Regions from separate parts of the Homo sapiens genome. Here region 2 is linked to region 1. The links are contacts of gene promoters, found by promoter capture Hi-C in blood cells and fetal thymus (Javierre and others, 2016). All regions are on one chromosome and are shown on one strand. Each heading gives the region's core, a stretch centred on a gene start or on the middle of the fragment in contact. The rest is flanking DNA. Distances are from core to core; before and after follow the strand shown. Region 1 holds the start of TAS2R5 (taste 2 receptor member 5). Region 2 overlaps MGAM2 (maltase-glucoamylase 2 (putative)).

Region 1 (3,792 bases), core at 904-3,403:
GGAGCTTAATACAGATCATGGCATCCAACTGACTTTTATTCTGCTTTTTTTTTTTTTTTTGAGACGGCATCTCGCTCTGTTGCCCAGGCTGGAGTGCAGTGGCATGGTCTCGGCTCACTGCCATCTCCACCTCCTGGGTTCATGCCATTCTCCCGCCTCAGCCTCCCGAGTAGCTGGGACTACAGGTGCCCGCCAACACACCAGGCTAATTTTTTGTATTTTTAGTAGAGATGGGGTTTAATCATGTTAGCCAGGATGGTCTTGATCTCTTTTTTTTTTTTTTTTTGAGACGGAGTCCCGCTCTGTCGCCCAGGCCGGACTGCGGACTGCAGTGGCGCAATCTCGGCTCACTGCAAGCTCCGCTTCCCGGGTTCACGCCATTCTCCTGCCTCAGCCTCCCGAGTAGCTGGGACTACAGGCGCCCGCCACCGCGCCCGGCTAATTTGGTCTTGATCTCTTGACCTCGTGATCCGCCCGCCTCAGCCTCCCAAAGCGCTGGGATTACAGGCGTGAGCCTGATTTTTATTCTGAAAGCCAAGGCTAGGGCTCAAAGAAACTTCCAGAAATATAAAGATGTTTTGTTTTGTTTTTCAGTTAGATAATTAGATACATTACAGCAGAGAAATGGGGAAATTATTTGATACTTTTTAAAAAGCATATCTAAAATGACTAACATTAATGTATAGGTAAAATTTCATAAAAATTAATGATCACTATAATTGTTCCTAATCTCTGTTTTCTATACTAGGAAAAACACAATTTATATATGAATTTTTGCTATATGTAGACAGAATTGTTCCTAATCTCTGCTTTTTATAATAGGAAAAACACGATTTATATATGAATTATTTGCTATATGTAGAGAGAATATAATACCTCTTTTACCAAACATGAAGCCCTAGCCTTGATTTCTGTGGTACATTAAAAAAATATACTTTGCATTGCCAAAAGAGACATAGTATTGGGTTTTGATCCGTATTTTCTGTTGCTCATTCATTACATTGGTGTAAAAGAAGGAAAATCTTAAAAGACATGGAAAGCAGCTCCCTTATAGAGAGCTATCAAAAGAGCGTCCCAAGAGTGTCCTGACCACACTTTTCTTCCCAGATCATGGGCCCCAGCATCTCCGAGCACACACTGTCTTCCACAGGATCTTCTGACAAGTCTGCTTCACCCTAGGAATCCCCATGATCAATATGAGAGAATGAAGAGAAGGATAGGCTGCCATGAGTGTCTCCCAGATGAAGACACTGGTGAGATCAGGAGGATAAGTCTTGGAGGTGATGGAGAAGGGGCTGGCCATGATATAAACCAGGTGAAGTAAGAGGAAGCAGCCCAAGGACTTCAGCGCAGTGATGTGAGCCTTGGCCCGGACATCCCTCCTACCAGCTGAATGGACCTTCATCTTCTTGTGGTGTGTATACAAAGAGACAATCAGCATCCCAGAGGAAACAAGAAACACCACTAAAGGCAAATAACTTCCTGAATTGAGCTGAAATGCATACAGGTACTGCCAGCTTTCAAAGGGATACCGAATGCTGCTGTTTCCTTGGGGAGGATGATAGAATGTTAAGCCAATTTGGACTGTAAGTAACAAATTGATTATAAAGTAGCCCAGAAGGCACCAGAGACTCAGGTTATAGGCCCTCTGCTTCAGCCACAAGTAGGCCGGGCGATCGAAGGTCGTGATCTTCTTGCAATAGAAGACACTGAGGAAGGTGGCAAACCATAAGCTGGCCTGGCTTACCAGGACCCAGAAGATACTAAGATAGCGAAGCCAACGGCTGCTCTGGAAAAGTGGAAACAAGCTTAAGTCCAAAATGATCAGCCACTGCAGGAGAAATCGGCAGCCAGCCAGGCCCAGGATAATGAGGTTATATGAGGACCAGTTGAATTTTCTGATCCATTCTCTAAAACTCCAGACCACCAGGCTTCCATTTCCAATTAAACCGATGAGAAATTCAACCACTGCCACCAGCATCAGCAGTCCTAGGCCAGCGCTCAGCATGGCTGGGGAGAGGAGGCTCTCACTGCTCCTGGCTGAGGTCAGATCCCCTGGTAGTGATAACACACCAGGGTAAATTTTCACACCACAAAATCTGGATTTGGCCTCGTCCTTCCGTAATCTGTCTTCAAGCGAGACTGAACAGCTGTGATGAGGAACAGAGAGGTTGGAAGTTATGATACCATCTGTATTTGCATCTACATGAATGAACCCTGAGTGTAGAACCAGAGATTGCAAACAGTACCACAGACACCGGCTCTCCATCTCAAAGGTTTTGGGCCAAAGTCTAGACACCAGGGTATAACGTAACAAGGCCCCTCAACAAGAAAGACCAAATCAAAACATGCTCAGGTGCTATACAGTGCCAGTTATGAGCTCATATGCTATATAAAAAAAGAAATTTTATTTTCATGAAAAGAACACTGGGCCAGGCATGGTGGCTCACACCTGTAATCCCAACACTTTGAGAGGCCAAGGCGGGTGGATCACCTGAAGCCAGGAGTTCGAGACCACCCTGGCCAACATGGTGAAGCCCCATCTCTACTAAAAATACAAAAATTATCTGGGCGTGGTGGTGGCTGCCTGTAGTCCCAGCTACTCGGGAGGCTGAGGCAGGAGAACCACTTGAACCCAGGAGATGGAAGCTGCAGTGGGCCAAGATCGCGCCACTGCACTCCAGCCTGGGCGACAGAGCAAGACTCCATCTCAAAAAAAAAAAGTAAGCATGCTGAGAACTCTCTACGAAGCTGTAGGCAGGCAGGCCACTGCCCGTCTCTGGGCCTCAGTTGCTCTATTAATAACTGAATGGATTGTAGGATGAGATTTCCATTCCTTCGGACTAAATTTACAAAGTGCTTATTTTGTGTCAAACTACGGTGTACTAGGCACAGGGGACGGCGCCATTATAATACACAGTCCCTGCCTCCAGGTAGCATCCATTGTACATCATCTCCACCAAGCTGCAAGGCCTGGTACTCTAAAACTCTGGCTGTAGGCTATGGAGGGGCAGAGGTGGTCGCGATCTTCTACTGGACTAAAAATCTAGATGAGGCTTGAACTCGTCCAAAAACAGTGTTTCTTCAGTGACTTTCTGATAGAGACATAGTGCCTCTCTCTCCCCACCTGCCCCAATCTAGCCTGGCAGTGGAATTTGCCACCGATCCTGGTAGCCAACTGACACGTTTCCAGAAAGCTAGTCTGGCATCAAAAAAACCAAAGTATCCAGAAATATAAAGGTAGGTTTTTGACTACTTTACTACCGGTGTTGAGAGGCTAAACTACATAGAAAATTGAGATAATAATTTAGCTAATTCCCCTAAGAAAAGTGCTTGCCTAAAAAATATACAGGCTCACCTCTTTTTAAAATATATTATTTTCAAACTATAGCTATTTTCTACTTCCTTTTATCAAAAACATAGCATATTGGCAAAGAAAACTTGATTATCTGCAGTAATTTTTAAAAATGTGATACTTCCCATGCAAAATATGAAAACTCGGTTTTGACTTCTGTAGTTTATTAAAATGATGTGATTTGCATTGCTTAGAGAGCAATAAGCTCCAGTTTCTAGCCTGTTTTTCATGTTACCCTTTCATTTTGTTTCAAAATCAAAGAAGAAATGAGGAGAATTGAGAATAAAAATTTCATTTTTCTAAAATCTACAGTTATTTTTACTGTTGTCAGTGATACAGTTAAGGGCCTGATTAGATCCTTCTTCCAAGTCATGGCCTCTAGGATTTCCATGTACATATCATCTCCTACAGAATTCTCTGACAAGTCTGATTCCTCA
Region 2 (3,824 bases), core at 421-2,920, 410 kb before region 1:
AAGGTATATTTCTAAAAATTACTGATAATTCCAGAGTTCTGAACTCTGTGGATTTTCCAAGAAATTAAGATTCTGGTGATGTTTTTTGATTTTTCTCAGGAAATGAGTATAATAGTCCTGGGGGTTAAAAAGAAGTTATGATTTGAGGGTACACAACACCTGGAGCACGAACTACTGCCTCACCCTTGTCCCGATGTTGTTGTGGTTTCTGGAAAATGGATAAAATGCCCCCAGTTGCATCCAGCGAACACACATCTCATATTCAGCATCTCCAAAGAACCCACAGATATCTGCTCCTGTCTGAGAAGATGCATAATGAGAGCATGAGGTGGGAATTTCATGAGGCGCTGACTCACTAAAATCTGACTGGGCAATTAGTAATGGTCTGAATGTGACTTACATAAGGTATTCCAAAGAGACTGAACTCCATCATGCCTGCAAAGAGAAGACACAGCTGTGTTGGAGGAAGGAGCACTTTGGGAGGAGAGTGAAGGCTTGGCCTGATTTTTCCTTACCCCATTAGAAAGCCCTGGACCATGATGAAAATATTAAAAGATGGGTGTAAATTAAAATCCACGCCCAGAGAGAACTCAGTTCTTGTTAATTTTACCACCCACCTAGATGATGATAGAGACATAACCAGTGCTGTTGAACAGCACAAACTCCAGTGCCCTCCCTGCCAGCACAGGCCCCTGGGAATGAGCCCACACACCAATGATAGATTTCCCCAGCTGGTCCCATGCAGCTGTGTTGTTTCCCAACCGGTGTCCTCCCCAGCGTCCAGAAGAGGGAAATGTGGAGCGGGTGATGATGACCCCTCGCTGTCCTGTCACCTCCTGCACAGCTCTGGTGGGAGGGGAATAAAGAGGTGAGTTGAAGAAACAAACTCCTTTACAGAGAATAACTGCAGCTTGGAGCATGAGAGGGTGAGGGTACTTCGGTCCGAGTCAGATAACTTCTTCCCTGAAAGAATCTGCTGTCTCAAAGCCATGCTAAAGATCCCAACAAACTTCACAGCAAGACTAGAGGTATATCTGCACGTAGAATGTGGGTTTCATTTTTGAAAAATCTGGTTAATTAACTATCACCCTGGAGTAAGAGAAAGGGGTGGGAGTGAGGCGTAATATAGCTATTTATGGAACAATTCCTCTATTCCAGTATTATACCGGTCACTTTCCTATGTGGTGTCTCATAACATCATGAAAAGGTTTCCTTGCACTCCTTTTACTGTTAGGAAGCTAAGATTCAGAGAAGTTAGAAAGGCATTCGCCTGAAAATAGTGAGCTGGACAAAATAAGATGATCTTTAAAATGCTTACCAAAGGTCATTTAAAGGGTAAAGAGGTCTGGGTGTGGTGGCTCACACCTGTAATCCCAGCATTTTGGGAGGTCAAGGTGGGTGGATCACTTGAGGTCAGGAATTCAAGACCAGCCTGGCCAACATGGTGAAACCCTGTCTCTACTAAAAAAAAAAAAAATTAGCCGGGTGTGGTGTGCATACCTCTAATCCCAGCTACCCAGGAGGCTGAGGTAGGAGAATCACTTGAACCTGAGGAGATGGAGGTTGCAGTGAGCTGAGATCGTGCCACTGCCCTTCAGCCTAGGTGATAGAGCAAGACTCTGTCTCAAAAAAAAAAAAAAAAAAAAAAAAAAAAGAGTAAAAAGGAGGCCAGGCACAGAAACTCACACATGTAATCCCAGCACCTTGGGAGGCCAAGGCAGAAGGACTGCTTGAGGCCAGAAGTTCAAGACCAGCCTAGGCAACACATTGAGACCCTGTCTCTACAAAAAAATAAAATTAGCTGGGCAGGGTGGTGCACGTGTGTCTGTAGTCACATGGCAGACAGGGGAAGAGGGAAAAAAAGAATAAGGAGGCAGATCTGGGATCCAAATAAAAGCTACAGCATTTTGGAAATATTCACTCTGCTTTTCTGTACCTCAAAAAGCGAGACATGTTTTGCACACAGAGGCAAATATACATAAAAGATGTTTATCTTTCAGTGGAAGATGGATCATCTGCACGCACCCTTAGAAAATAACAACAACTGTGTGAGGGAAAAATCAACTGAACAAAAGAGAAAGTCTACTAATAGATCCTAGTATGTATACAATCCAAGTATTTGCTTAAAAAAGCATCACAGATCAATAGACACAGATGAATTAGTCAATAAATGATGTCAGGAAAAGTAGCTGACTACTGTTGTGTAAACTAATCCATTTGGGTTATTTCCAATTTTTCACACCAAAACAAATCCAAAAATGAATGGAAATACACACACACACACACACACACACACACACACATACACACATGTTCTATTAAAACTGAAAGAATATATAAACCACCTGATTTCTACAAGAGAAAGGAATTTCAAATAAAAACAATGGACAAAACATAATGAAGTAAAAGGTATAGATTTAACCATACACAAATTGGAAGAATGCATATGTATGTATGTGTGATAAAGAAATGGGGGTGAGGATAGCTTAGATTTTTATAACAGTCTAGATGAGAGATAATGAAGGCCTGGAATAAGGCAGGAAGATAGAGTAGTGACTGATGCAAAGAACTGAGTCACCAACTGAAAGCAGGAAAAGAAAGAGAATCTAGGATGACCTAATGACTAGTTAAACTTGGTTCCTTTCACTAAAATAAAGAATGCTGGAGGGGCCGGGCGCAGTGGCTCACGCCTGTATTCCCAACTCTTTGGGAGGCCCAGGCAGATGGATCACCTGAAGTCAGCAGTTCGAGACTAGCCTGGCCAACATGGCAAAACCCTGTCTTTAATAAAAATGCAAAATTAGCTGGGCATGGTGGCATGCAACTCTAATTGCAGCTACTAGGGAGGCTGAGGCAGGAGAATTGCTTGAACCCAGGAGATGGAGGTTGCAGTGAGTCGAAATCGTGCCACTGCACTCCAGCCTGGGTGACAGAGCGAGACTCCATCTTAAAAAAAAAAAAAAGAAGAAGAAAGAAAAGACTGCAGGAGGACAGGTTTAAGGGAGAGATAAATAGTTCAACATTTTAAGTATTAGATTTGAAGTGCCTATGGGACATCATAAATGAGACAGCTATGGGCAATTCTAGGTTTGAGGCTCAAGAGAGGTTTGGGTTGGGAACAAAGATTTGGGGGCCATCTGAATCCAGAGTGTATTTAAAGCCAGTAGTATGTGTTTGTGCTTATCCAAGGGAAAAGCTACATGGTGTGAAGAAAAAAAAAGATGACTGAACCCAGGTGTGGAAGGAGCATAGGCTTGGAAAGACTGGGAAGGGAAACCTGCAAAGGAGTTTGTGGAACTGTGGCCAGAGAGGTAAATGCATAAATATCTGGAATCTAGGTTGGAAAGCACAGTCAAGATCCTGAGAAACTAGCAAAAGCACACAGAGCATATGCAGCAGGGCATATTATGAACCTCAATATTGTGAACCTCAAGGTCAGCAGAGGATGTAGCATGAAGGTCAGCAGGGAAGAGTCAGTGAACAAAACTGACCACTGATGCCACAAACGCTGAGCTCTCCCATCAATGCAGGCACTCAGGGCTGACAAACAAAGGCATTTTCATAAAAAGAAATAAAAATGGTTCAGTGCTTGGACAGAAAAGAGCAAAGAAGACATGGTCTTCTCCCCAGGTGTGTAGAGGAAATAACTTAAAATGTAGAACATACTGTCAGGTTAGTAGTTAAGAGAAGGAGGGAATTAGGAGGGATGGAGTAATCTGAGCAGGTTTCATGAAGGAAATAGATGTAAGTTGGTCTTTAGATTGTATGTGCTAAGAGATTAGCCTGATCAAGGTCAGAATGACCAGCATTTGTGATTGGTAAAG

The links. Contacts are between HindIII fragments. The CHiCAGO score rates a contact against its expected background, and 5 or more counts as called.
Region 2: a fragment that was not itself captured here is called in contact with the fragment with the promoter of TAS2R5 in region 1 in 1 of 17 cell types (M2 macrophages); the score reaches 5.9 in M2 macrophages.

What each region holds. Positions count from the first base shown.
Region 1 is chr7:141,788,578-141,792,369 of GRCh38, reverse strand. TAS2R5 (taste 2 receptor member 5) reads right to left here and starts at 2,153. Exons shown (of 1, transcript NM_018980.3): 1 at 1,003-2,153. The coding sequence starts at 2,008. The coding sequence ends at 1,109. It also overlaps the pseudogene TAS2R6P. The HindIII fragment of the contact is 7,447 bases long and covers 1,811-3,792 here.
Region 2 is chr7:142,193,176-142,196,999 of GRCh38, reverse strand. It overlaps MGAM2 (maltase-glucoamylase 2 (putative)), which reads right to left. Exons shown (of 48, transcript NM_001293626.2): 38 at 713-846; 39 at 401-435; 40 at 184-300. Among named protein-coding and RNA genes, the nearest start is that of PRSS58, 63 kb to the left of the region's middle. RefSeq lists an enhancer at 1-909. The HindIII fragment of the contact is 5,144 bases long and covers 1-3,824 here.